Regions from separate parts of the Homo sapiens genome. Here all the other regions are linked to region 1. The links are contacts of gene promoters, found by promoter capture Hi-C in blood cells and fetal thymus (Javierre and others, 2016). All regions are on one chromosome and are shown on one strand. Each heading gives the region's core, a stretch centred on a gene start or on the middle of the fragment in contact. The rest is flanking DNA. Distances are from core to core; before and after follow the strand shown.

Region 1 (4,034 bases), core at 1,128-3,627:
GGGCGGATCACGTGAGGTCAGGAGATTGAGACCAGCCTGACCAACATGGTGAAACTCTGTTTCTACTAAAATACAAAAATTAGCTGGCCTTGGTGGTGCGTGCCTGTAATCCCAACTCCTCGGGAGGCTGAGGCAGGAGAATCGCTTGAACCCGGGAGGCGGAGGTTGCACTGAGCCGAGATCCTGCCACTGCACTCCAGCCTGGGTGACAGAGCCAGACTCTGTTCAAAAAATTAAAAAAAAAAAAAAAAAAAAGAAAAGAAAAAAAATGAATGTAATCTCCTCTTAAGTGGAGCTTTTCAAAAATTCTGCGTTTAAACTCCAAGGGCTTCGTTCTGTGTCGTGTAAATAGTTGGGGAGAGGACAGCACCATTCACTTAAATGTCAATGGGAATCACATTTAAGTAAAAGGAAAAGGAAATCAGTAAATCAAAGTAAATCAAAGACACATCTGCATCCCCATGTTTATTGCAGCTTATTCCCTGTTGGACGTCCCCTGAATTTCCTATAGAGGTGAAGCCATCTCTGCCTTAAGGAAAAATGAAGTGCCTAATACTGCTTATAATATGGTCCCTTTTCCAGATTTAGCTTCTCCACCCCAGATTTTTGCACAAGCCATACTGAACTACTTCATGTTTCCATACTCATGTTTTGTTCCAGCCACACTGAATTACTTAACATTCAGCACATTGCCAAGCTCTTTTCCCCCGCTTCCGGGGTTTGCACAAGTTGTTCCCTTTGCCAAGCAAATTCTTCCCCACCTCCCTACTCCTTGCCTAAACTCTTCTTTTGGGCGTAGAAAGAAGTATTGCTTCTGGGTAACCTTTGTCTAATAATGAAATATCTAAGACATATTGAGAACTTACTATGGGTCCCTCACTGTTCTAAGTTCTTTCACAGAGATTCACTTTTATAATTATCAGGAAAACTGGACTTTTTTTTTTTTTTTTTTTTTTTGAGATGGAGTCTCGCTCTGTCGTCCAGGCTGGAGTGCAGTGGCGCGATCTCGGCTCACTGCAACCTCCGCCTCCCGGGTTCAAGCGATCCTCCTGCAGCCTCTCAAGCAGCTGGGATGACAAGCGTGCGCCACCACGCCCGGGTAATTTTTGTATTTTTAGTAGAGACGGCGTTTCACCTTGTTGGCCAGGCTGATCTTGAATTCCTGACCTCAAGTGATCCTCCCACCTTGGTCTCCCAAAGTGCTGGGATTACAGGCATGAGCCACAGCGCCCGGCCAGGATTCACTTTTATAATTATCAGGAAAACTGTAGGAAGTGTTAATAGGTAAAAGGACCTCATTTCATAGATAAGGAAACTGAGACACAGAGAGAGAGGGAGTTTCTAAAAGTGTTATACAGGTGGCCTATAAACTCTGTAGTGAAGAAAGGAAATGAAGACAGGATAGAATGATCGCGAGAAAATGGTAAGAACAAGGGACTGGAAGACGCAAGGAAGTTTAGAAATACGCTGGCATAGGGGTCTTTTGAGCAGGCACGCTGCTAAGATGATAGGATTATAGTCAAGGATGGGGAGCGATTGCACTGGGGATTTCTGGAGCGGGTGCAGCCTCTGATGGTAACATGGTCCAGGGTATACCTTCAAAACGGGAGGCTACTGGAGTGAAAGGCGTCAATGGTGATAACACTTTAAAAAAAACTTCAGTGTTTCCCTAGCATCCAGCCCAGTATCTGCTAAATTCTTTAAAATATCTGTTGAATGCATGTCGTGAACGCCGTGCTCATGGGCAAGCCCCAGATGAAGCCTGTGCAAGTGCTTCTTGCTTTAACTCCCTTGTAGCAATCAGAGGAACATCCTCTGCCTAGGATTCCCAAGCTCCCTGAACCTCACGCGACAGCTGGAGCCCAGGCTGCGTCCGCTTTGAGGTTCATCCGAGCCTGGGCAGTTCGGTCCCTGGAGGGAATTCGCTTTAGATACGACTGTCAGAGAGAAGTGTGCTGATAAGAACACTCGCTCATAGCGCGCAAGCATCAGAAGTGGGGGAGGCCGGGGAGGCGCTGCGCCGGTGCCTCAGGCCGTCCTCGGACACAGGCCCTGAGAAGCGTGTCCGTGTTTCAGAGGGTGGCGGCGGCAGCTTTGTCTCAGCGAAGGCCACAGCACTGCGGGCAGCTGCCGCATGAAACCTCGGCTCCCCCTGACTCTGCACCCGACACTTCACCTGCAACGCAATCCGAAGGCGAAGGCACCGCATCCCGTCGGCCCCGCGCGGCCGGAAGCCTCGCGCCCAAGACTCCCCGGCATCCTAGCGCGCTGGCTGCAAAAGAGGCGGGAAACGCCTCCGCGTCCCTTCCAACAGTACCGGAGAGGGAGAGGGGCGTGGCTGAGACTAGCCCCGACCACGCGCGCGCGGCCCCTCGGCAACCGGCACAACACAACAAAATGGCTGCCGCGCCGCTGGGCCCCTGAGGAAAGAGCCCGAACTTCTCCCGCTCTACCTCAGCCTGCGGGACTGCTCGGCTCGGCTTCTAGGCGGTGAGCGTCAGACCTGGCCGAGCCCGTTCCCCGGCATCCGGCCCGAGCAGTGGGGGCCGGCGGCAAAGGCGGGAAGGCCCGGACCGGGCGTGGTGTGGGCCGGCTTGGGATGGATTCGGGGCGGGGGCGCGTGTCTGGGAATTGGGATTGGACGGGAAAGAGGGGAGGGCCCGGAACGGGCGTGGGGCGGTGGATGAAGGAGGGAGGTTTGGATGGGAAGAGGTGGGGACGGCGGGGGCGATTGGGGATGAAGAACCAGAGTGTGGGGAGGTGTGGAAGTTAGGGTGCGGCGCCCAGAAGGTTGTGGGTCCTGCCACCTGAGCTGAGGGGAGAGCTGGGATGTGCCAGCTGTCTGTGGGGAGTGAGCGGGAGAAAGGACAGTTTGGGCGTCCTGACGGGTTGTCACGGTATCGGACGGAGTACAGTGCGTGGAGAAAGATGACAGGATATGGGGACGAAATGCTAAAAGAAGGGGAAGAACAAACACTTCCGTTATATTCGTTAAGGGACTAGAGAATTTTGAAGCCAGACAAACTTGGGTTGAAGCCTCAATTCTGCCACCTTGTGTAACTTAACCAGGTCTGTGACCCTGGATATGTGTCTGAGCCTTCCTGATCATGTTTCCTCATTTGTCCAAATAATTGCGAATCATTTTTGGGTGTTCACTATTTGTCAGATCCAGTTTTAAGCACTTTGCACGTATTAACCTCATTTAGAATTTAAAATAACTTGTATGAGGTTATCATCCCCATTTAAAAAGTGATAGCACTGAGGACCAGAGAGGTTAAGTAATTTGCCTAAGATCACACAGTAAGTGGAAAATCAGAATTTGAACTCAGGCTGTTTCGTTCCAGAATCCAAGCTTTTAACTGTTCAGGTACATTGCCATTTGTAAATCAGGTTAATAATTCTGATCCTATACAGCTAAATCTTTGAGGATTTAAATTTGGTATTGTCTAAGTGTTTAGTACAGTCCTTCAGTCAACAAATATTTATTGTTTATAGAACAACAGACAAAACCTCTGCTCTCTTGTAGCTTATAGTCTAGAAGGAGAAACAGGCAACAACCAAGTAGTTTCACAAATAATGGTTATAAAATGCTATGAAGGAGACTGCTTGGTGCAGAGATCATGGGTAATAGGGAGATAAAATCTTCTGCATCTTGAGCTTAGATTCTAGCATGGTTCTTCCTACATAAAAGTTGCTCAATAAAATTGAATAATTAATGGAAAGAGATGGGAAGCTTGAGTTTTAGGGTATCTGAGCAGAAGAAGAGAGATGGGAGAGGGGATTCAGGCTTTTAATAGGATGGAGAAGGATACGGGGGCTAGAGTATTAGGATGGAAAGGCAAATAGGCAGGCAGTTGGGTTGGGATGAAGAGGAATGGATGGAGGTTTGAGTATTTTGTTTAGGGAGGGGAGTAATTGGAGGTCAGAGTATTGGAACGCATTAGGATGTCAGGGTATTTTCTGGGGTGAAGAGAGATGAGCAGCTTGGGAAGTCTGGATGGATAGAGAAATGTTGAGTCTGGGCACAGGAAAGA
Region 2 (4,034 bases), core at 863-3,362, 500 kb before region 1:
GCACACATTTTTCAAAGGAAGGCCCCAAGGCCCAGACAATTTTACTGTCCTAGCCAGGGTCACATGGCGGTTCTGTGGAGAGCCAGGTCCAGAAGCCAGGTCTTTTATGTCCAACTCCCACGAATACTTCCCTATCCCACACTGTAAAGTAGGAGTTGATGGAAACAGCTTGACTTCTTGGCAATTTGCTCTTTCCATGCCTCTAAATCCAAATTCATTGTGCTCCTAGGATAATTTTGCCTGACCACCAAACTTTGGAGTTGGAATGTACCTTCAAGATCAAAAACAGGCAAAAAATTGGAAATATCATAAAATTCCAACATTAAGAAAATGATCACAAAAAAATGTGTCCGGGCTGGGTGCAGTGACTCATGCCTATAATCCCAGTATTTTGGGAGGCCAAGGCTGGTGCATCACTTGAGATCAGGAGTTCGAGACCAGCCTGGCCAACATGGTAAAACCCCATCTCTAATAAAAATACAAAAATTAGCCGGGCATTGTGGCAGGTGCCTGTAGTCCTAGCTACTTGAGAGGCTGAGGCAGGAGAATCACTTGAACCCAGGAGGCAGAGGTTGAAGTGAGCTGAGATCATGCCACTGCACTCAAGCCTGGGTGATAGAGTGAGACTCCATCTCAAAAAAAAAAAAAATTTAAAAAAAAAAGTGTCCCCTGTAAAGGTAAATGAAAAAACGTAAACAGAATATGTCCTCAATTATGAAAACAAATATATACAGTACATAAATACTGAAGTCACCTCAAGTCCATTTTGGAAATAGGTGGGCTACAGATATATAACAAGACAAAGGAAATATACTGAAATATTAAAAATCATCATTAGTAGGGAAATGAGAGGTTTTCTTCCTTTTTAATGTTATATAATTCTCAATTTCCTCCAATAAACATCACTAAAAGGACAAAGTCAATTTTCTAAACTGAATTTTAAAAACTAAAATCAAGTTCAACCATCACCTTTTGCAGATGGTGGTCCAGAAGCCCAAGGTCACATACACCAGGTTATTGGCCAAGCTCAGCCTAAGGTCTGGTCCTGCATTCTCAATCTGGGGTTCTCTCCGGGTACCAGAGCCATTACATTAACTCCCACTGGCTAAAACTGCCCATGAATAACTCAAGCCAAGATCAATCACAGCTGAAAAGTACCTAGCAAACAAAGCCAAAGATTCTGGTCTTAGACAAGCTTCCTACAGGCAAACACTGAAGTTTGAAAAATGACATCTGACATCCCAACTCTTAGACAAAACCACTATGTAATGCAGAAATTTTTGCTTGGATCCTGCCAAATTTCCACTCGGGCTTTACCTACCCACTTTTAAAATGCTATGAATCTGTCATCTGCACCCTCCAGTCAGTTCCAACTACACCTCCAGCCACAAGCAGCTCCCTCTTTCCATTCTAATCATTCACTTGTAGCCTTATAATTAAGGCTGGGGCCTCAGGGATACTCACGAGAAATGACAATGTAAGCAAAACAAAAGGGCTCAGATATGATCTTATTCCACAGATGAGAAGACTGAAACCCAGAAATGGGTTAGGAACTTATTTACTCAAAATCACAAAAGTTAGTGGCAAAGCCAAGCCCAAAATCCAGGATCCCAGTGTCTTTTCCACTTGCTAGCCTGTGTGTGGACTGCCCAAAGCTCCTATATAAATGTGACACATGGTGGAGTACCAGTTTCCTCACGTGCAAAATAAAGCACAATCTAAGAAACCTGCCCTTGTATGGGGCACCCATGCTGCACAAGCACCACACTCAGCACAGGACAGGCAGCCTTCCCTTTCATCCTCACCACAGGATTAAAGTCCATTTTCTAAACTGAATGTTTGAAACTAAAATCAGGTTTAATCCTCACTATAGTCTTTCTGCGGCTGGTGGTACTTTTTAATGTTGCCTTTTTTTTTTTTTTTTTTAATGAGGAAACAAAGACCAAAAAGTTAATAGGCTGGAAACTCCAAGCCAGCCTGACTTTAAACCCCCTGCTGTGAACCTACACCACCCTGGTACCCCTGACGCCTTCCCGGAGGTTGGGGGTGGCAGGGGTGTGGTGGTGGTTAAGGGCCGAATGGACTGAGGCATAAAATTTCCATCACTCAGCACAGGGCACAGCCATCATAACGACTGTTTTGTTTTGTTTTGGTTTTTTGGAGACTCTCACTCTATCGCCCAGGCTGGAGTGCAGTGGCGTGATCTCAGCTCATTGCAACCTCCACCTTCCATATTCAAGCGATTCTCGTGCCTCAGCCTCCCAAGTAGCTAGGATTACAGGCATGCACCACCACGCCCGGCTAATTTTTTGTACTTTTAGTAGAGATGGAGATTCACCACGTTGGCCAGGCTGGTCTTGAACTCCTGAGCTCAGGTGACCTGACCGCCTCAGCCTCCCAAAGTGCTAGGATTACAGGCGTGAGCCACCGCGCCCAGCTGTAGCAACTGTTTGTGGATAATTTTTGAGTGACTGAATGGACCTTCACCTGAGCTCCACCACCTCATCCTCCTATCTTGCTCTATTGCTACCGAAAAGGACTGACCTCTTTCTATGCCTACATATGCCAGCAACAATTGTCCACTCAAACCATAAGACCCAAGGGGTCTTATGTCTCCTTGACAAATTGTTTCATGAGAGTCATGGATGAGACCAGATATCACATTCTGACAACGATTACACAAACAAACTCACTTTTGTCTTTTAACAACCCCTTTTTCATTCTATTTTATTCTTAATTAGAGAAAAATACATAAATTTAAAAAAATACAGATAAGCCTAAAGTTCTCCTTGGCTCCTCCTCGCTCCCATCTAGAACCCGCCTAGGAGGTAATCACTGTTTTCAAAAAGACCTATAACTTCCAGAACTTTTTATGTGTTTTTACATAGATAGTTTCAATTTTGCTGCTTAAAAACACATGCAATCAAACAGTATACATCATGCTACAACATCCTTCTTCTACTTAATATGCCCTCATGATGTTTTCATGACAGTACAAATAGATATGCCTCAAAGTTTTCAACTCCTACAAAGCTTTCTACAGCAGTGTTCTTCAAACCTTACTGACCATGAGCCACAGAAGAAATATTATTACCCTTCATCCTTGAAATGTTTTCTATTCTGTTCTATTTTTCTAAATCCTGGTTGCAACCTACTAAATTGAATTTCATGAGCTACCAACGGGCCACAGTCTGAAAGATACTTTTGAAAGGATGTGTATTTACCCAATCCCCTACTGATGATAATTCAATTTGTTTCCAAGTTTTTCTTTTACATGCAATGTCATATGAATGTCCTTATAAGGTCCCATATGCACAAGTATGAGGATTTCTCTAGAATAGATGACAAGAAGTGGAATTGCTGGGTCAAAATATATTCACGTTTTTTAAATGGACGATGGATTTGAATACACATTTCTCCAAAGAAAGTGAACAAATGGCTAAAAGGCACATGGAAAGATGCTCAACACATCAGTAGCCATTAACATGTAATCAATACCACAATGAGGGCCAGGCGGGGTGGCTCACTCCTGTAACCCAGCACTTTGGGAGGCCAAGGCGGGCAGATCACCTGAGGTCAAGAGTTCGACACCAGCCTGGCCAACATGGTGAAACCCCGTCTCTACTAAAAATATAAAAATTAGCCGAGCATGGTGGCACGTGCCTGTAGTCCCAGCTACTTGGGAGGCTGAGGCACCAGAACCGCTTGAACCCACGAGGCAGAGGTTGCGGTGAGCCGAAATTGCGCCACTGCACTCCAGCCTGGGCAAGGGAGTGAGACTCTGTCTCAACGACAAAAAAAAAAAGACCACAATGAGATACCTACCATGTCACACCCAAAGGATGGCTATAATCAAAAGGACAATAAAAATATCAGTGAAGGGCAGGCACAGTGGCTTGTGTCTGTAATCCCAGCTCTTAGCAAGGCAGAAGCAGGAGGATCACTTGAGCCCAGGAATTTAAGACCAGCATGGGTAACAGAGCAAGACTGTCTCTAAAAAAAATTAAAAACAAAAGCCTTAAAAAGGAAAGAAA
Region 3 (4,034 bases), core at 713-3,212, 470 kb before region 1:
AGTTCACATACCAACTCTTGTATTGTCAACTACCTTTTGTACATAAACCATCACTTACTGAGCACCCACAATGTACCAGCAACATGCCAGATGCCAGAGGCAGAAGAATAAACGCTCCTAATTTCAAGGAATACAGAGTTCACTGGGGAAGGCACAAACTAACAAGTATTTATAATAAAATATATGCAGTAGTAGAAGTATTCATTAGGCAAAATGGAGGTACAAATTTAAGAATTGATCAACTTTCCTTTATCAAAGGTTTGCAAAGAATGAATGAGCATTCTCAAGGATATTATAGGTAGGGGAAACAGTACCAGCAAAGGAGGAAGACATCATATAACCTGGCATATGTAGGAAATTGTATGAGTTTAACATGGTTGAATTGGAATAGTAATTAACGTGGCAAGAGCTGAGACTTTTCCTTCTTTGGGTCAAAGATTGAAAGAACCAATACTGACATATACAATTTCAGCAGTTTGTCTAACAACACAAAGGAAACCACAAAAGAAGATTTCCTCCCAAATACTTCTTTTATTACCCAAACCTACTCTTATTACATACAAAGAAAACATTTTGCCTGTTTTCTTTTGCAACTGTTTGAAGTGCAGTGTTCCATTCAACAGACAAGGTTTAAAATCTACTTATTATTAATACAAACAAGCAGCACATTGTAAATTTAACATTGTCTGATGGCTTTCATTTTGTACACGGAAGTACTAGAAAGCCTGTACAATTACTACAATAATTCCTCATAAAATTGCCTTGAAAGACTAACTTATAGGTAAAACTGCAATTTTAACATTGATTTAGATAGAATGTTGATTTTCAGCCTGTCAACACTCCTAATGCTATCATCTCATGAAAAACGTTTTTAATTCAGCTTAACTTTTTTTTTTTTTTTTGAGACGAAGTCTCGCTCTGTGGCCGAGGCGGGAGTGCAGTGGCGCAATCTCGGCTCACTGCAAGCTCTGCCTCCCGGGTTCACGCCATTCTCCTGCCTCAGCCTCCCGAGTAGCTGGGACTACAGGCGCCCACCACCACGCCCGGCTAATTTTTTTGTATTTTTAGTAGAGACGGGGTTTCACCGTGTTAGCCAGGATGGTCTCGATCTCCTGACCTCGTGATCCACCCGCATCGGCCTCCCAAAGTGCTGGGATTACAAGCGTGAGCCACCGCGCCCGGCCAATTCAGCTTAACTTTTAAAATATAAGTAAGCACACTGTTACTTTGAAGTTACTGACTTAATTATAATGGAGCATGTGGAATTTTTTTAAAACATAGATGTTTTATACTCCTATGGAAAATGAATACAACCAGTTTTGATAATGCAACCTCGCAAATGTCCTTACTTGTTTGTATATATATACTTTCTCTTGAAACTGTAATTTGTTTAGATTTCTGCCATGCTTATTCTTTTCCCTTAATACCCAATTCATATACATCACAGAACCACATGTATAAACATAAGGTGTTATTATAAAGTGATAAAACCTGTTTTCTTGTGTGGCTAGAAAAGAAAAAATAGAGTTTAAAAATTTAAATGTTAACCAACTGAAGTTGAATAAAACAGTTTAAGTTTATAAAGCTCTCAGCACAAAGAAATGCCTGACTTTTTCTTTTTTTTCAAATAAAGGAATCTCTCAGATGGCATCCCATTAAACACCATCTAGCTTTGTCAAAATACAGGTTCTTCAAGAGTAGCTTAAAATATTAAAAAGATGTACTCTCATTACAAGTTACTTAATAAACAGGTAGAATATGGTTTCTCTTCAGATTTCTACCAAAGAAAGGAAATTCTTTATATGTGTGACAAAGAAATCCAAAGCGAGCAAGTTTTCTCTATAAAATCCGACGGATGTCAGAGGGAATAGGCAAAAGCACAAACAAAAATATATGTTAATATATTTTCTTCTCAGGTTTTGTTTTCCTCTAAGAGAGGGAATCTTCTTCATGGATTTTTTTCCCCCCAAGTAGAAAACATTCTTTAAATGAACTTAAACAAAATACATGGCCAATAAATGAAGAGTTCAAAGATTTTTATGAAGTGGGCTGAAAGTAAATGATCCTTGGCATGTATTTGAAGACATGAAACAACTCTGACCACACAAAAAAGTAAACAACAAATCTACAATAGGTACAAATTATATACATTTATTTTTAATAATTTTAAATAACACTCTTGTATAAATTCTTTCATATATTCAAATCATACACAAATTTAGAAATGCATGATGAAGCCTAGTACAGCATATGTATGAGACACATTTTTTAAGTTTGTGTTAGAATTTTAGTGACATAAATACAAGTTTAATGTTTCAGAAACATTCCCTAATTGCTCGGCCTATAATTTAATGTATTATAGAGTGCTTATGCCTAGCATTACAACTTGACTTTAAATCATTTAGCTTTTGGACTAACTTAGATCTGAAGCCCTGGGCTTACTTTCTAGGGCTGCTGCTGCAGTAACAAGTAACAATTCCTACCCACATAGCCCAAAATATAGGAACCAGGGATGTTCATTATAAGTGGTGTTATGTTCACCAAGCATCCTAAAAAGTGTAGGACCAAGGTGAATGATCTAATAACCCCATTCCAATCAAAGCTGTCAAGAGGAAGTATTGTTGCTTTAGTTTTCTACTCCCAAAACAGCACTTAAAGGGTTAAATATCCTGATGGTACTCAGCTGACCAAAATAAACTAGTAGGTCAGTGAGTATTGCTTTAATGGTCAATTTACCTGGGAATATTGGCGCTAGAGAACAGTGATATAATTTGAGGTGTCTACAAATGTTGTCTAAAAAACCTCTCTCCTCTCATCCCATGTTTCCTCTGTTCTCTACTCTTAAAATCTAGGTATCACTGGGAAGAGTAACGCACTAGGCCCACAGGACCTTAGTATTAATATAAATGAGCTTTAGTTTTCAAATGTCATTTTTTTCTCTATAACTGGAGAAATTCCATTAATAAAAGAACCCTAGGGGATAGAGGGTAGAGGGAGCGAGAGGGGAGTAAGGGAGGACACGGACATACTTAACACTACCTAGGGCACCTAACCATCAGAAATGCATAGGCGCTTACCAAAATGAATTAATGAAGATAAAAGCATCGCTTAATGGCAGTATCTGTAATTTCCAAATAAGATTCACATCAGTGCTATCTTATTTAAAAATAAACAGATTTCCAATCCTTACACAAACATTCTCCCAATATTAGGCTTTCTTTTTCTTCCTTTTTTTTGAGACAGAGTCTTGCTCTGTCGCCCAGGCTGGAGTGAAATGGCGCCATCTCGGCTCACTGTAACCTCTGCCTCCCAGGTTCAAGTGATTCTCCTGCCTCAGCCTCCCAAGTAGCTGAGACTACAGGCACGTACACCCGGCTAATTTTTGTGTTTTTAGTAGAGACGGGATTTCGCCATGTTGACCAGGCTGGTCTCGAACTCCTGACCTTGTGATCCACCCGCCTCGGCCTCCCAAAGTGCTGGGATTACAGGCGTGAGCCACCGCACCCGGCCCAAAATTAGGCTTTCTAAAGGACTGATGGCATCCTGCTGCCAGATGCCACAGTTTATGGGGCCCATGCCTTTAGAGGAAAGAACATTGTGCAGTGCATCCCATGCTAGTTTCCTAGAATGATTTCAGTGGTAGATCACTTTCTGATTGATTTATATTTTAAAGCAAATTATTTCCAGAATCAAAAAGCTCGAGACATTAGAGGATCTTATTTAAAACAAATTTTAAGACTTTTTTTCCCATTGAGAAAAATTATAACCATGATCTAGGAGCCATTAACAAGTATTTAAAGGTAAACTTTCTTTGTGATTCAATTTTTCAATACCTTTTAAGGTCTGTTTCAAGGAATTTCTACATGGTCAAAATCCTCTTAGACTCCAACAAACCTCCTTTCTCTCTATTGGTTTAACTTCTGTTTAATAAATGTTCACTTCTCACCACCTTTAATCCTGACCTTTTTTGGGGGGGGCAGGGGGCGGTGTATCTGGGAGAAAGACAGGTATGCCATTTTGCACAATTTCTTAGA
Region 4 (4,034 bases), core at 894-3,393, 450 kb before region 1:
TTTCCAAATTAAAAGAACAGTGGAATAATTACATGACAAAGTTAAGGAAAGTACGTACCTGTGAGGGCATCGCAACTGGCAGACCGATTATTGCATTGGCAGGGCAAGCAGCCATTCTTACTAAAGCCATAATATCCATCTTGGCATCGGTCACATATAGAGCCAATGACACCCACTTTGCACTGGCATTTCCCAGAACTGCAAATAAAAGCAAAGACAATGAATAAAAGTAAATCAATTTAAAAGTTGTATTGAGTAACACCCCAGAAGGGAAAGAAAGCCCAGCTCATGTAAATCATATATACTTACCATATCTCAAAGCCTTGTGTCCAAATAAATCACCTATCAAATTCTGTATTGCTATTAAAAGCTGTCTAGTGTATTGCATAATGCAATTTCTTAGCTAACAAATAATTTTACAGAAAATTTAAAATGGAGGCATTTGAAAGCAGGAGTAATAATGATGATGCAATGAGCTATCATTTATTGAGGGCTTATGTCAATAAATATATTTTTTCTCTAATCCTCAAGGTAGTTCTACCTGGTGAGGGTCATAATACTTATTTTACTACTGAGAAAATTCAGATAAAGTTACTGTCCTCAGCTAGTAAGTCAAGTCTATTCATACAAAGCCAGACTTTTCCCCACCATACTATCTACTCCTAAGATTGACTCTAAATTGGTACAAGAAATTTGTCTGCCAAATAACTTGATATCCACTTAGGTATCAAGCTTCATTCTGTAGATCCAAAGCATTACAATTCACCATCTATATAGGTCCTGACTCCAGTGATGGTGTTTATGCCCTGTCCACAATAAATCTTGCTCTCTTTTCTCACTGCAAGTAAATTTCAGGTCTTTAACAAAGGCTGAGAAATCTTATTGCTTGAAGAGAAGCTGCAGCCTAACAAAGTCAAAGGTTCTCAGAGATAGAAGCCCAAATATTTTGATGTTTAAAGCTTAAATAAAATTTGTACTGATCATAGTATAGGAGATGTTTTTAAAAATGCAACAAAAATTTACATTATCTAATTTATACTATCAAGCATGAATCTATGAATCTTAAGTAATTTAGTAAAGAAAAAAGAAAAGAAGCCACACACATATACGGTCTTACACAAGAATATCCCAAGGTACTTAAAGATCTAGCAAAGAAAACCTGTATTCATAAAAAATAAAATTCAGGAATATTTTATGACTCAATAAGAAGGAACCAGTCAATCGAAGCCACTCTATACTATCAGAAAATTATAAAGAACATAATGTACCTTTCAAAGAATGGCTTACAACACTTCATCAGCTTATTTCCAAGGCTTTTAAAATGTTAATCAAAATATGCTTACTCCTCATTCCTCTAAATATGTTATTCAATATACAAAAGGATAAACAGTTACTTTCAATGATGGTGTTTGCCTAACCCACAACCTACAAGAAGAAGGTATTAGTTTCGAACACAAAATCACTTAATAATATTGTGTAACCATAATATAGCCAATGTTCCCAAAGTAGTTGCTATTCCTGAAGTGGGTTTTCCCTTAATAATTCTTGGGGCACTAAAAGACTTTCTATCTGGAGGATCTGCTCCTTAATTGCTGATTTAAAGTGACTTAATGAATCTTGATAAAGTAGTTGTCTGAGTGTACATACCATGCTTTATTTTTTCCTGGGTGATTTTTGTTCGTTTTTGTTTTTTGAGAAAGGGTCTCATTTAGTCCCCTAGGCTGCAGTGGCGTGATTTCGGCTCACTGCAGCCTCAACTTCCTGGGTTCAGGTGGTCCTTCTGCCTCAGCCCCTCAAGTAGCTGGGACTACAGGTATGCGCCACCACATCCGGCTAATTTTTGTATTTTTTGTGGAGACAGGGTTTTCCCCTGTTGCCCAGGCTGGTCTCAAACTCCTGAGCTCAAGCAATCCGTCTGCCTTGGCCTCCGAAAGTGCTAGCATTACAGGTATGAGACACCATGCATGGCCAGATTTTAAAACAACAAGAAAAAAAAAGGTGCTTTTCTCTCTTTTAAAAGAAAATATAGGCCGGGCGTGGTGGCTCACACCTTTATCCCAGCACTTTGGGAGGCTGAGGTGGGTGGGTCACTTGAGGTCACAAGTTCAAGACCAGTGATCAGCCTGGCCAACATGGTGAAACCCCGTCTCTACCAAAAATACAAAAATTAGTCAGAGTGGTGGTGTGTGCCTGTAGTTCCAGCTACCTGGGAGGCTGAAGCAGGAGAACTGCTTGAACCCAGAAGACGGAGGGTGCAGTGAGCCAAGATCATATCACTGCATTCCAGCTTGGGTGACAGAGTGAGACTCCGTCTCAAAAAAAAAAAAAAAAAAAATGAAGTGAGGAATTTTGGTTGTGAGGCTGCACTACTAGTGCTTTTGCATCATGTTATTCATGGCCCAAGGCCAATTTCTGCATGTATAAGAATTAAATTTATCAGGCATGGTGGCACATGCCTATAGTCCCAGCTACTCAGGAGGCTGAGGCAGGAAGATCACTTGAGCCCAGGAGTTCTAGGCTGCCTGAACTACTCCAACTGCAGTTAAACAGGAATAAACAGCTGGGTCCACTTATCTCAAATTAAACCTGTCTCTCATAAAGCCCCACAGACCAAGAAACACAGGAGACTAATCCTGCAACCACCCAATGGGTTCACCTTGCCCACTGCCTAGGCAGAGCTGATTTATCAAGATGGGGGAATTGCAATACAGAAAGAGTAATTCATGCAGAGCCAGCTGTGCAGGAGACCAGAGCTTTATTATTACTCAAATCAGTTTCCCTAAGTATTCAGGGATTAGGGTTTTTAAGGACAACTTGGTGGGTGGGGTGAAACCAGGGAGCCAGAAGTGCTGACTGGTTAGGCAGGAAATGACATCACAGGGAATTGAAGCCATCCTCTTGAGCTGAGTGTGCCATGATCGGGCCTGTGAATAGCCACTGTACTCCAGCCTGGGCGACACAGGGAGACTCTGTCTCTTAAAAAAAAGATTTAAATCGGCCAGGTGCAGTGGCTCATGCCTGTAATCCTAGCACTTTCGGAGGCTGAGGCGAGTGGATCACGAGGGCAGGAGTTCGAGACCAGCCTGGCCAACATAGTGAAACCTCGTCTCTACTAAAAATACAAAAATTAGCAGGGCATGGTGGCACACACCTGTAGTCCCAGCTACTCGGGAGGCTGAGGCAGGAGAATCGCTTGAACCTGTGAGGTGGAGGTTGTGGTGAGCCAAGATTGCGCCACTGCACTCCAGCCTGGGTGACAGCAAGACTCTGTCTCACAAAAAAAAAAAAAAAAAAAAAAAGAAAGAAAAGAAATCACTCAGCAAATATAAAGCTTTGCCTGTGTGACTTCCTTCGTAGAATAAAGACTTTACAACACTCCCTTTCATGGTCTCTCTCTGTTAAAGACTTGAATGCTTTCTGAAGCAAAGGTCAATGATATAAATGCAATGAAACCAAAAAAGAAAAAAAAAAGGCTGTGAACAGACCACTTATGCTTATCCATAGATTTGAAATGAAAGAACCAAAACCCACAGCTTCATAACTGGAGAATAAATGTGTAGAACTGGATTTTAAATAGAAATCAGACATCTGTACTATGAGATCAGCTAACAATTTAAGATAAAATTTGCTTATCTGGTCTTAATGACATGTTGCTAGTAAAGTACCAAGATAGCACAAAAATTATATCAGAAAAAAAAGAATATAGAATTATTCATAAACGAAGCATAAGCATTGTGGAGCTACGCTGCATTAAGTGTAACTATGCATATACTACACATTTCTTAAATTATCCCAAAAGGGATTCTCAGATTTTCTTGTGGTAGTAATGCTCAGTTATAGAACTTACATACTCATGGGTGTGAACAACTCCTGCAAGGTTTTAACACTTTAGAAAAAAGCATTTTTTAAGTGTATATAAATAAAAACATATTTTACAACACTAATAGTCATTACTTTTTCAAAAGAAAATTCACTGGTGTATCATCTCAAGATATGGTACATATCTATGTCACATGAATACAAGCCAAATTACC
Region 5 (4,034 bases), core at 908-3,407, 430 kb before region 1:
TTATGCCCCTAAGCTTTAGTACCTCCTCTGCCATATATCAAATGTCTTTATACATATGATTTACTTCTGGGCTTTCTTTTTTATCTATTTGTTTATCCTGAACCAATACCACCCTGTCTAGATTACTATAGCTTTACCTCTCTCCAATGTTTCTGTATAAAAACTTTGGAAAATATAGATAAATCAAAAGAATGGTATTCTGGATATCTGTGTATATATTTTGCTTTACATACTACCCCCTAACTCCTGTTCCCAATTTATACCACTTCAGCCACAATGACTTTGCTGTTGCTCAAATACATCAGGCATCTTCCTGCATCAGGGACTCTACTTGCTGTTCTCTCTATTGGCAATACTTTTCCACAGGGGATCCGCATGGCATGCTCTATTACTTCTTTTTGTTCCTTATTCTAATGTCATATTCTCAACATATCTTGCCTAGCCACACTATCTGAAATTGTAATATTTCTTACTATTTAATATACCATAAATTTTATTTTCTTGTTTATTATCTCTCTTCCCATCTAGAATGTCAGTTCTGTGGAATCAGGGGGGTTTTATGTGTTTTTTCCTCTGCTATATTCCCAGTGCCTAGCACAGTGCCTGGCATGTGATAGGCATGCAAACTTTGTTTAATGATTGCATAATCTGGCTCCAAAGTCTATGTGTGCTTTCTTCATTAACTCTTGATGACTTCTAAGCGCAATATTTATTTTCATTTCAGTCCATTTAATATTTTCCATGTACTTAATCTTTTTTAAAATTTTATTATTCTTCTTTAGACTTTTATCGACTTTTTTCAGGGGCTACATATGCAGGTTGGTTACATGAGTAAACTGTGTTGCTGAGGTCTGGTGTATGAATGATCCCATCACCCAGGTAGTACCCAATAGGTAGTTTTTCAACCCTTTACCCCCCGCCCACCCTCCCCCTTCTAGTAGTCCCCAGTGTCTACTGTTCCCATCTTTATGTCCATGTGTACTCAATGTTTAGATCCCACTTATAAGTGAGAACATGTGGTATTTGGTTTTCTGTTCCTGCATTAACTTGCCGAGGATAATGGCCTCCATCTGTATCCATGTTGCTGCAACAGATATGATTTTGTTCTTTTTTACAGCTGCATAGTATTCCATGGTGTATATGTACCACATTTTCTTTATCCATTCTACAATTTATGGACATCAGGATTAATTCCATGTCTTTGCTATTGTGAATAGCATGCACTTAATCTTGACACTTTATGTCACACTTAAATAAACCTCTTAGAATCTTGGAAATAGAATATTCATTCTAGGTGAGCAAAATGAGACATTCAATGACTAGCCCATGATAGGCCAATCAACCTTGTAAGACAGTGATCCCTCAGGTTTGTTCATTAAAGTAAGATAAAGAAGAGCAGATAGAAAGAAAAAGTCCTAGCCCTCAAAGAAAAATCCATTTTGCTCAACCCCAATATTCCATCATGACCCTACTGAATAGGGCCTCTTTAGCTTATACAATTCTCATAAAAACAAAGAATAGAGGTTGAAATGCCTCAAAAAAAACCCTTCTTTCTTAGTTCTAGTTTGCATCTGCATAAGTTGACCTTAGGTTTTGAGGACAACACACTCAGAGCCACCAACATAGATCAGTGGTTCTGAAACTTTAGCATGCTGATTCTTGGGCCCTATCCCAGACTTTTTTATTCAATAGGTCTGGTGTTGGGCCTAGGAATTTGCATTTCTAAGCAATTTCCAGGTTAAACTGATATTGCTGGTCTGGGGACCATAATTAGAGAACTACTCTACTAAATTAACTGTACTTATTTCACTCTATTTTTTATATCCCTATCCCTGACTGGTAAAGCTACTTACTTTCCACTTCCAGGCATAGTGATGAACCCTGAATTTGGTATCAATTCTAACCTAAGAAGAGGGTACTTAAGGCAATCAACCTCAGCGGTCTGTCAAGTCCCATTTGCTACTGGTTCCTTTGTCCTCAGTCCCCTATATTCCTAATGATTAATTACAACTATTGTCCCTAGTTTCTCAATGCCTGGCTCCTGGTCTCAGTGGCCCTGCCTCTCCACTTTCCACCACAATGACTAGGTCCATGACACTTGCTTTCAGACTTCTCACATATCAAATGCCTGCCTTTTAACTTAAACCCAAGCAAGTCAGATGTTCTGACACCCAAACCACAGACCTAGCTTTAAATATTTCTAATGCCCTAATTCCTGCCTTTTCCTTTCCAATGATTCTGTATGTATACTCTTAACAATTTTTATTGTTGCCTTCTGTTCAGTATTTATTTTCATTGTAGCCCAGGTCTGATTTCTAGATTTATATTTCCATAGGCCAGTACCTAAACTGATGAGTCATACTCACCCACAGCTAGCCTTGCACTTACATTGAGATGCTCACACTGCCATATCTAATTTTGCCTATTCTATTTCAGGGTACAGTGGGAAGAGACTTGGAGCCGGACAGATCTGGGCTCAAATCTAAGTTCTGCCATTTATTAGTTATGCCATGTCGCTAAGTAATTTAGCTGCTAAGAACAAAATGGATGAGTTGTCTGAGAAGTCAGAGAGGTTTTATGTGTAAAACATCAAGAATGGAGGTTTAAAGTGTTCAATGAATGTTAATTTCCTTCTGTTCCTCCTGCTGCCTCTCCTGGATTATGCAGCTTCTTTCGGTGAACATGTTAGTCAAGAAAGCTAATATATTTCTCTGTAAAAATGTTTCCTTCAAATATCCACAATATCTGTTTTAATGGACATTCTATTCAATTGCAGAACCCTTTGAAAATCAATTCAAGGCCAGCAAAAGTAAAACTTAATTAAAGTAATGGTCATGGTATATGTGTTGGAAACTGGCAAAAGAGAAGGAAGAGATTTTGTTATTGACAATATAAGCCATACTTGCATTACTGCTTTTGGCAATGTGAGAAACATGCCTATGTTCCTTCTGTAGTGTATGTAGAAAACCCCAAACTGAAAAACTAAATTGAAAACCCCAAATTGTTGAAACACACAAAATATATCACACCAGAATATTCATTTAATCTACACAAAGCCATAATAATGGAATTTATAATTTTTAAACTAGTCCTATATACTATGTCAAAATAATCATGGCTGAAGCATTTGTGTCCCTTTTTATGGAAAATCTAAAGAAACTTCAAGTCCAAGTCTCCCTCTAGGATTGACAAATTTAGGTATTTTGAGAAGAAATCACATCCAGGGAGGAAAAAAAGCTGAACAGTCCCATATTTATCTCCATCCTCTAGGAAACATATTTCTTGCTATGAAAAAAAAAAAATCTGAGATGGAAAAAGTCATGCTGATTTAATTTTCTTTCAGGGAATAGAGAGGAAGACAAAGCCTTCTCTGTGGGAACAAGAGGCCTTCTATTTTAGCCTAAGTCTACTAACATGAGTCTTAGAAGCTATTCATTTTAAACTGCAGAGAAAAAAGAACATTAAAATAGGCTATGAATTTGATTGTACATTCTAACCACAATGTCATACATCTAAAATGGCAGGTCAACAAAGTAAGTTTATTTCCTTATCCTAATTTCTCTTCTGTACTTAAGGCTAAGAATTACCATAAGGACCAACTTTGCCCTCAAATAAATAATACTGTCTATACTCCCTTGAATGACTGCTTCAAATAACAATTTTATTAACTTTCTATTTTGAAATAATATTAGATTTAAAGAGGAGTTGCAAAGATAGTACAGGAAGTTCTAATCTACCATTCATCCAGCTTCCACTAATGTTTCTTTTTTTTTTCTTTTTTTTTTTGAGACAGGATCTAGCTCTGTTGCCCAGACTGGTGCCATCATGGCTCACTATAGCCTTGACCTCCTGGGCTCACGCGATCCTCCTACTTCAGCCTCCCAAGTAGCTGGGACTACATGCATGCACCACCAAGTAGCTGGGACTACAAGCATGCTTGACTAATTGTGTAATCTGTTGTAGAGATGGGGTCTCCTTATGTTGCCCAGGCTAGTCTCAAACTCATGGGCTCAAGCGATCCTCCTGCCTTGGCC
Region 6 (4,034 bases), core at 1,134-3,633, 410 kb before region 1:
ACAAACTTAACAATGGCTTATCTTTTAAAACGGTAAGCAATGTGAAACTTCTGAATCTAACTTGTATGAGCATGTTTTAGGGGGAGTGGAGGGAACAGCGTTAAGCTACCACTCTATTCTCAATCTCAAAGAATAGAGTGATTATCAGTTTTCTCATTATAGAATCTACATGCTACGGTATGCTATGGTAGTGAAGACACTGGACTTGGAATTGAAGACCTAATTTGGAATTCTTTCTCTGGCACTTACTATCTTTGTGACCTAGTAACCTATATATAAGGAGTTGCTGTGAAAATTAAGACAAATAACTATTTTAAAATATTAAGCATCAGAAGCATTGATTATTGCTGCATTTGAAATTATAAACTTCTTAATGAAGTTCTCTTCTACTTTTTTTTTTTTTAAGACAGAGTCTCCCTCTCTCACCAGGCTGGAGTGCAGTGGCGCGATCTCAGCTCACTGCAACCTCCACCTCCCGGGTTCAACCGATTCTCCTGCCTCAGCCTCCCGAGTAGCTGGGACTACAGGTGTGTGCCACCACGCCCAGCTAATTTGTTTGTATTTTTAGTAGAGACGGGGTTTCACTGTGCTGGCCAGGCTCATCTAGAACTCCTGGCCTCAAGTGATCCACCCGCCTTGGCCTCCCAAAGTGCTAGGATTACAGGCGTGAGCCACCGCGCCCAGCCTCTTCTACATTTTTAATAAACTACAATATGATACAATATTCCATAACAGTATAATATCATTTATAAAGCATTTAAAATATTTAGTGCTAAAGTATAAAGCACTTCTTTGTCAAGGAGCTAAAAGTTCTTAAAACATGTTCTCTCATTTCAGTCCATAATATTCCTTTGAAATTAAAACAAACCAGAATTTATTGAGTGACATGTGCTAGGCATTTTATATATATCAACTCATTTAATCTTCACAACAACCTTGAGAAGAAACAAGCTCAGTGAAAGGAAATTACTTGCCCAAGGAACACAGCTCCTAAGTGGCAGCAGATCTTGGGTTATACCCAGGTTACACTGAGTATAACCTGTCATTATTTTTTTCATTATTTAATACTGTCTCTTCAGTTTTTTGACTTGGGGTCCACAAAAAGCCAAGTGCCTCACATAAGGTCAAAGAATAATTACTTTCAGTGCAGTACAAGGCAAATGCTTAGATAACAGTACATTATTCCACTAGATTAAATTACCTCCAAATAACATAATAGTTTAAAGATAATTCCTGCTTAATCTACTTTTGGTCTCAAAAATGTACTGGTAAATAGAGTAAAACCAGTCTACTTACCACTAGTTAAATAAATTAGGGTACCCCCAGGTTAAGCTTTAGATGTCCAAAGAAACAAATGTAGAATTTTGATTAGAGAGAAAAATAAACCAAACAACAAATTTCCTCAAACTCCAATGGTATATTAATAAACATAAGAACATTTCTAAACCTCCTAGCAGGTTTCATGCCTGAAAGCCCTTCCAGAAAGCAGATTTATTCTTCAATAATTTTTTCCCATGAAATTTACAGAAATTATCCCAGAGAAAAATTGGCGACTCTAGTGCTTTTGAAGAACTAAATCAGTAAATTAGATGTTTTTAAATCCTGACATTAAATATAACATATAAAGTAAGAGAATAAAAGTATATAAAATATTTTGTAAATCTATGACCCTCATCCCCCTTTGTTTAAACCAGTATGGTCCTTGAGAGTAGCAGCCTTTTTTTTCCCCTTGCTAAAATAAAATAAACTTCAGTTCCACCCTCTGTTGCTTACCTGTTGCACGGTATGCTGAGAGCTCCATGTGGACTACAGTCACATGGCTGACAGAGCCCAGAAGTGTAATTTAGGTAAAAGCCCTCTTTGCAGGTTTCACAGTGAAGCCCCTGATAACCTGGCCGACACTCACACTGCCCTGTGGTCTGGTTGCAGCGATTCACATTCAGGCTTCCAACCACAGAGCAGTTACATACATACTCTGCAAAGGAAAGAAGGAAAGAGACATTACCAACTAAGATTTAATGCCCTCTTAATAAAATGAACTCTATTTTATTTTTCTTAATAAATTTTCATGACAACTTTGTAAGGATAGATAAAATTAACTCTAGTTCAAATTTACTTTCTATCCCGTTTAGTTTACTTAAATCAGGAAACATATAGAGTACATAAATTATGTAGTGTGTGTGTGACAGTGTGTGTGTGTGTGTGTGTGTGTGTGTGTGTATTATTAGTTTTTCTGAATTAGAAGCCACCAAAGGCAGGCTTATCTACATGGCACTAAGGGCACATGTTGGAAATGACAACATGTTAAATAATAAATAATCCCACTGTATAGCAGCAAAAGCCTAAGGCTCAGATGATTAACTTTGGCAACCGATTCAAGGTCATACTAGATTGTGCCATAGCTAGAATCATAAGCTAATGTGTTCTGCCCAGGAAGAAATTAATGAAGAATAGAAACTTTAAAGTAAGGAAATGATGAACAATAAAACCAGAGGAGAAAGTTTACAGGTTCATCCTGATCTGTGAGTTGAATGTCTTTCCCAAATTAAAATATTTGGAAAATAAACATTTCTTTTAAGTATATTTCAAACAGTTCTTTGTTGTTTGTTTGTTGGTTTCACTTTTTTCACTTTTCGAAAGAAATACTTTAATTTTTAATTTTTGTGAGTACATAGGTGTATAAGGTGTATATATTTATGGGGTACCTGAGGTATTCTGACATAGGCATGCAATGTGTAATAATCATATCAGGATAAACGGTGTGTCCATCACCTTAAGCATTTATCCTTTGTGTTACAAACAATCCAATTATACTCCTTTAGTTATTTTAACATGTACAATTAAATTACTGTCCATAAATTACTAAATTATTGACCACAGTCTATCTGCTGTGCTATCAAATACTAGGTCTTATTCATTCTTTCTATTTTTTTTTGTACCCATTAACCATCCCCACTTCCTCCCCACCACACCCCTGTCCACTATTCTTCGCAGTCAGACAGTTCTTTGGATAAAAATATTGAGAAGCCCTTAGTTTTAGCCTTCTAATGCAAAGACTCATTTAAAGGTCAGTTAGGATTCATTTTTTGCTACTGCCTCTATTCATTTTATCAAAAGGAAAGTGTTTTCAACATAGTTTGACACAGCAGTAACAGAGGACTTTGTATTAACATATGTATCCTAGGAATAGGTCCCATTCCAAAATAGCTATGATCCTACCCTTAAAGGGTCCTGAGAAATCTATGGTACAAATTACAGTTCTAAATAGGTAAGGCACTATATAAAATGGCACTGTACCAACACAGTTTAGCTTGGAAAAAATAATCTTTGATACTATTTTTGATGACTTCAAAAAGCTACTAGACAACTACAAATCCAGACTCTTAAAAAGAGAGTTGTAAAGGGGTTTGCTTCTCCATTCTAGAAAAGGAAATTAAGCTTCAAAATTCTTTATGTAATCACAAGCAGCTTATTTATCCACACAAGTCAAAACAAAAGATTCCTCAAAGAAATTCCCACTTGGCCAACTCTATACCTCCCACACTTCTGCAGTTCCTAACCTTTGGTGTCACTTTATTTCCCTGCTCTTCACAGCTCTTCTAGTTTGTAAAGATAACAAATAACAAATAAATAGACCAGGCAGTGGCTCATGCCTGTAATCCTAGCACTTTAGGAGGCCAAGGTGGGCAGATCACTTGAGCTCAGGAGTTTGAGACCAGCCTGGGCAACATAGTGAAACCACGTCTCTACCAAAAAAAATACAAAAATTAGGCGGGCATCCTGGCATGGGCCTGTAGTCCTCGCTACTCGGGAGGCTGAGGTGGGAGGATCGCTTGAGCCTGGGAGGCTGAGGTTACAGTGAGCCAAGATCTTGCCACTGCACCCCCACCTGGGTGACAGAGTGAGACCTGTCTCATAAAAAATAATTAACGTAAAATAAATAAATAAATATTGGCAGCTTATTTGTTTATTTTATGTCTATTTCAAACTTGGGTGGTTCACAAAACCCAAAGGAAAATTCACATTTCTTCAGC
Region 7 (4,034 bases), core at 862-3,361, 370 kb before region 1:
ATGCATTGATCAATTTAATCCCCTCTCAATAACACTATGATTCATTACTGCTTGGATTTCAAAGTTCAAAATTCAGAGAAGAGTAATCATTACCAGTTTCCTAAAGGCCAGAGTCATTCTCTGGCATATTCTTTAGGGTAGCACCTAGGCCTTTTGGCAACGTACAAGCCAGGCAGATGGGCACCTTGTCTTCTCTCATCACAGTATTGAAAAATACCAAATGTCTGGCTTTGTTCCAGGCTGCTTTGGGCTTTCAGGGGCCACGTGAACCAAAGACAAATCATGTTTGTGCTGGATCAGACACAAGAAAAACAGTCACTGACTTGATTCTGCCAGGGAGTACCAAGTCTCAAGTAAAGCATCATATGGGGTCTTAGATCAAAATAGATTTACTTTCTTTTTGGTGACATGATAAATAATTTAAATGTGGTGAATTTTTTCACATTTTGATCTGTCTTATATTGGTCTTCAGAAGACTGTTAAATCCTACTTGCACCTCTGTTTTCATAACAAGCAAGTGATCTCATTTATTATCATGAGAAATGAAGCAATATATGCAGTAATAAAATATTAAACTCAATCAGTGATTTTAAAAAAGCTTTATGGGACAGCTTTTTTCTCTATTTTTCATTTTCTACAATGTTTATTGTAGAAAATGAACATAGATTATTTTTATAATTGTAAAAAAACTGGCCAGGTGCAGTGGCTCACACCTGTAATGCCAACACTTTGTGAGGCTGCGATAGGAAGATTGTTTGAAGCCAGGAGTATAGTATCAGCCTGGGCAATATAGCGAGACTGCATGTCTACAATTTTTTTTTTTTTTAAATTAGCTGAGCATGGTGGCACATGCCTGTAGTCCCAACTACTCAGGAGGCTGATATGGGAGGATCACCTGAGCCCAGGAGTTCGAGGCTGCAGTGAGCTACAATCACACTACTGCACTCTAACCCGGGTGAAAGAGTGAGACCGTGTTTCTTAAAAAAAAAAAAAAAAAAAAGTAAGTAGAACCCATTCTAAACAGATCAACCAAAAATAATATTACATAAAGCACAACTTATATATGTTGTGAGTTTAATATGAGATAAAGATTATTTTGTTTTCTCAAGGTAGTGGGGAAGAAAAATAATACTAAAGGACCTCAAACCTTTGGAAAACACCATAATTGTTAAATTATACAAATATGTCAACTACAAAATAGCATAAAAATATATTTTGTGTAAAGAAGCCATATATAAATGAATGTGTTTATTTCTTTGTTGTGTTTAATCAAAGCTATCTTGGTCACATTCCATTATAAGCTAATATAAACCATGTAACTTGGAAAGAATATTAAAGCCTTTATGTCTGAGAAAGCCCAAAGTAGTTTACATGTGTTACTTCTCAAAAACCTTTGGTGACTGGAAGTTTCATTTTATAGTCTGGGAAACTGAGTCATAGAGTCATCAAAAAATATACTCAATAACTCAAAAAGTGAATAGAAAGACTAGAATTTAGTTCTTCTGACTTCGATTCTACTGATTAGCTGGACCATCCAGCCCTGCCTTTGCGGACAAGTTGAAGCAACAAACTAACTTAAAAACTAAAACCAGTTGAACAGGATAGGTTTGCAGGCAATACACCAACAATTCAGTATAATAATACCCAACAACTAGATTGCTTTGGGTTTTTGGTACACTTTATAACTATTCAATAACTCACATAACATCAATAGATGGTGGGACTATAATGTTAGTGCTATTCATATAGAACTGATAAAACACACTGTAGGATTACAATAAATATAAAATCACATGAAAAATCTACAGCAGAAAAAGCCCAATGCCTTCCTCTCATCAAGACTCAATAAACAAACACAACAGGATAAATATATTGGAATGCAAGTCCTTCCCCCCCCGTTATTTCCAATAACCCTTCCCAATCCCTATAATGATTAATAGGACTTAAGAGAATCTAAAAATCTATTCAAGTTATCCAATTTCCTTCAGAGTGAATAACATCTACACTTTTCCTAGAATATTTTTAAAGAAATTTCATCTTTAAAGACCGTTTCCAGGCCAGGCACGGTGGCTCACGCCTGTAAACTCAACACTTGGGAGGCTGAGGTGGGCAGATGGCTTGAGCCCAGGAATTCGAGACCAGCCTGGACAACGTGGTGAAACCCTGTCTCTACCAAAAATAATAATAATAATAATAATTAATTTAAAAAATTAGTTTAAAAAAAATTAGCCGGGCATGGTGGTGCACGCCTGTAGTCCCAGCTACTTGGGAGGCTGAGGTGAGTGGATCATTTGAACCCGGGAGGTCAAGGCTACCGTGAGCCACAATCACGCCACTGCACTCCAGGCTGGGTGACAGAGTGTGACCCTGTCTCAAAAAAAAGAAAAAAAAAAAACAATTTCCAAAATTAAAAAGGAGTAGGAAATATGATATCCTCCTTGTAGTTAACAATGCTACTACTTCTCATCTCTTCTTTTTGCTCACATGTATCAAGTAAAAGCACTAGATTATTAAAAATAAATGATAAAAATCTAATAAGATCTGTGATAATATGCCAGTTTCTTGGAAGCATGTAAGACTGAAATAAGTTTTCAGACTCAGTTATCTAAAGGGTCTAAAATTTAGTAAATAAAGGTTATTTAACATTCTCCAGCCAGGCTGACAACATTCCTACTCCTTATCTTTTTCCCTATGACTAGGCAGAATGTATTCCTTTTTCCAAATGAATAAATTTTCCCTTCCCTTAATGCTTAGCTGTCTCCCTGGCAAGGTATCATATAGAACAGCTGTTATATTACCAGTATAACAGCAATCCCGTCTGATCTAATTGGAAAACATATGGACAGACTGAAACCAAACTTTTGGAGGCTCAGTAACTTTAAAGAAGAAATAATCAAATATATTGATAAAGACTATGAACAATGCCATGAATTCAAATTTTGCACAATCTAAACAAGATCTATTTCAATAAGCTACTTTAAGTAATGTTCAAGTGAATGCTTTAAATTACCTAGACAAGGTGGGGAGCAGTGGCTCACGCCTGTAATCCTAGCACTTTGGGAGGCCAAGGCGGGCGGATCACGAGGTCAGGAGATCGAGACCATCCTGGCTAATATGCTGAAACCCCGTCTCTACTAAAAATACAAAAATTAGCCAGGTGTGGTGGCCGGCGCCTGTAGTCCCAGCTACTTGGGAGGCTGAGGCAGGCGAATAGCGTGAACCCGGGAGGCGGAGCTTGCAGTGAGCCGAGATCACGCCACTGCTCTCCAGCCTAGGCGACAGAGCAAGACTCTGTCTCTAAAAAAAAAAATAAAAAATTAATTAATTAAAAAAATTACCTAGACAAAATGAAATGGAGAAAGAGCCAGCTCTCAATTTTCAGCCTCTGCTGAAGGTCTCAGTTAAATTTTGCCTAAAGGTACCAAATCTTAGATATGTCATTCCTACTGTATGTTCAAGATTTGTCAGTCTGCATGAATAGTCTCCTTTATTCAAAACCCTGACTCACTTAGACTAAACAAATACCCTGATATAGATCAAACTTGCTTAGTCAATGACAGAAATTATAGTTAAGTGGCCCTGGGTAATATCATCTGACTTGATCTTATATAAGTAAAGACTTACCAAGCTTATCAGAACTTTTTATTCATTTTTAAATGTTATTCATTTATTTTTAAGACTATAAAATTAGAATTGGATATAGTCACGAAAAAACTTTAAAAATTCAGAAAAACACAAAGAAGGTAATTAAAATTACCCATAATCCCATTACTTAGGTTTAACTAATTAATATTTTGGTATATTTCTCTCCTCATATGTATATTGCTGCTTAATATAATGTAAACATTTTAATGTAAGTTCATAAATTACCAAATTTCTTTATCATAAAATGTTAGAGTAGGAGAATTCCTCTTTCAAAAATCTTTACTGAAAGGACAAATCCAAAATATAAGCCAAATGAAAGAAGAGCTGATGTAAGTGGGGGTGGTGATGTGGAGGTGAGAGGTGAGAGTTGGGTGTGAAAGGTCCAGAAG

Evidence for each region. Contacts are between HindIII fragments. The CHiCAGO score rates a contact against its expected background, and 5 or more counts as called.
Region 2: a fragment that was not itself captured here is called in contact with the fragment with the promoter of CNTRL in region 1 in 8 of 17 cell types (activated CD4 T cells, erythroblasts, naive CD8 T cells and 5 more); the score reaches 7.2 in activated CD4 T cells.
Region 3: a contact is called between a fragment that was not itself captured here and the fragment with the promoter of CNTRL in region 1, in 1 of 17 cell types (monocytes). The highest score is 6.1, in monocytes.
Region 4: a fragment that was not itself captured here is called in contact with the fragment with the promoter of CNTRL in region 1 in 10 of 17 cell types (non-activated CD4 T cells, total CD8 T cells, naive CD4 T cells and 7 more); the score reaches 9.9 in non-activated CD4 T cells.
Region 5: a fragment that was not itself captured here is called in contact with the fragment with the promoter of CNTRL in region 1 in 10 of 17 cell types (naive CD8 T cells, non-activated CD4 T cells, total CD4 T cells and 7 more); the score reaches 9.1 in naive CD8 T cells.
Region 6: a contact is called between a fragment that was not itself captured here and the fragment with the promoter of CNTRL in region 1, in 12 of 17 cell types (monocytes, erythroblasts, neutrophils and 9 more). The highest score is 11.1, in monocytes.
Region 7: a fragment that was not itself captured here is called in contact with the fragment with the promoter of CNTRL in region 1 in 10 of 17 cell types (total CD4 T cells, naive CD4 T cells, non-activated CD4 T cells and 7 more); the score reaches 13.3 in total CD4 T cells.

Annotation. Positions count from the first base shown.
Region 1 is chr9:121,072,578-121,076,611 of GRCh38, forward strand. It overlaps CNTRL (centriolin), which reads left to right and starts at 2,378. Exons shown (of 44, transcript NM_007018.6): 1 at 2,378-2,490. It also overlaps a transcript of C5 not described here. RefSeq lists silencers at 1,642-1,838, 2,463-2,522, 2,643-2,782 and an enhancer at 1,953-2,342. The HindIII fragment of the contact is 4,047 bases long and covers 1-3,350 here.
Region 2 is chr9:120,572,914-120,576,947 of GRCh38, forward strand. All of the region lies in intron 1 of CDK5RAP2 (CDK5 regulatory subunit associated protein 2), which reads right to left. Among named protein-coding and RNA genes, the nearest start is that of CDK5RAP2, 5.2 kb to the right of the region's middle. The HindIII fragment of the contact is 1,838 bases long and covers 1,194-3,031 here.
Region 3 is chr9:120,598,792-120,602,825 of GRCh38, forward strand. It overlaps MEGF9 (multiple EGF like domains 9), which reads right to left. Exons shown (of 6, transcript NM_001080497.3): 6 at 2,020-4,034. Among named protein-coding and RNA genes, the nearest start is that of CDK5RAP2, 21 kb to the left of the region's middle. The HindIII fragment of the contact is 7,657 bases long and covers 1-4,034 here.
Region 4 is chr9:120,622,558-120,626,591 of GRCh38, forward strand. MEGF9 (multiple EGF like domains 9) reads right to left here. Exons shown (of 6, transcript NM_001080497.3): 3 at 59-198. Among named protein-coding and RNA genes, the nearest start is that of CDK5RAP2, 44 kb to the left of the region's middle. The HindIII fragment of the contact is 2,372 bases long and covers 958-3,329 here.
Region 5 is chr9:120,639,937-120,643,970 of GRCh38, forward strand. All of the region lies in intron 2 of MEGF9 (multiple EGF like domains 9), which reads right to left. Among named protein-coding and RNA genes, the nearest start is that of CDK5RAP2, 62 kb to the left of the region's middle. The HindIII fragment of the contact is 4,292 bases long and covers 12-4,034 here.
Region 6 is chr9:120,657,601-120,661,634 of GRCh38, forward strand. It overlaps MEGF9 (multiple EGF like domains 9), which reads right to left. Exons shown (of 6, transcript NM_001080497.3): 2 at 1,774-1,975. Among named protein-coding and RNA genes, the nearest start is that of MEGF9, 55 kb to the right of the region's middle. The HindIII fragment of the contact is 2,106 bases long and covers 1,331-3,436 here.
Region 7 is chr9:120,698,745-120,702,778 of GRCh38, forward strand. The region is part of intron 1 of MEGF9 (multiple EGF like domains 9); the gene reads right to left. Among named protein-coding and RNA genes, the nearest start is that of MEGF9, 14 kb to the right of the region's middle. The HindIII fragment of the contact is 3,030 bases long and covers 597-3,626 here.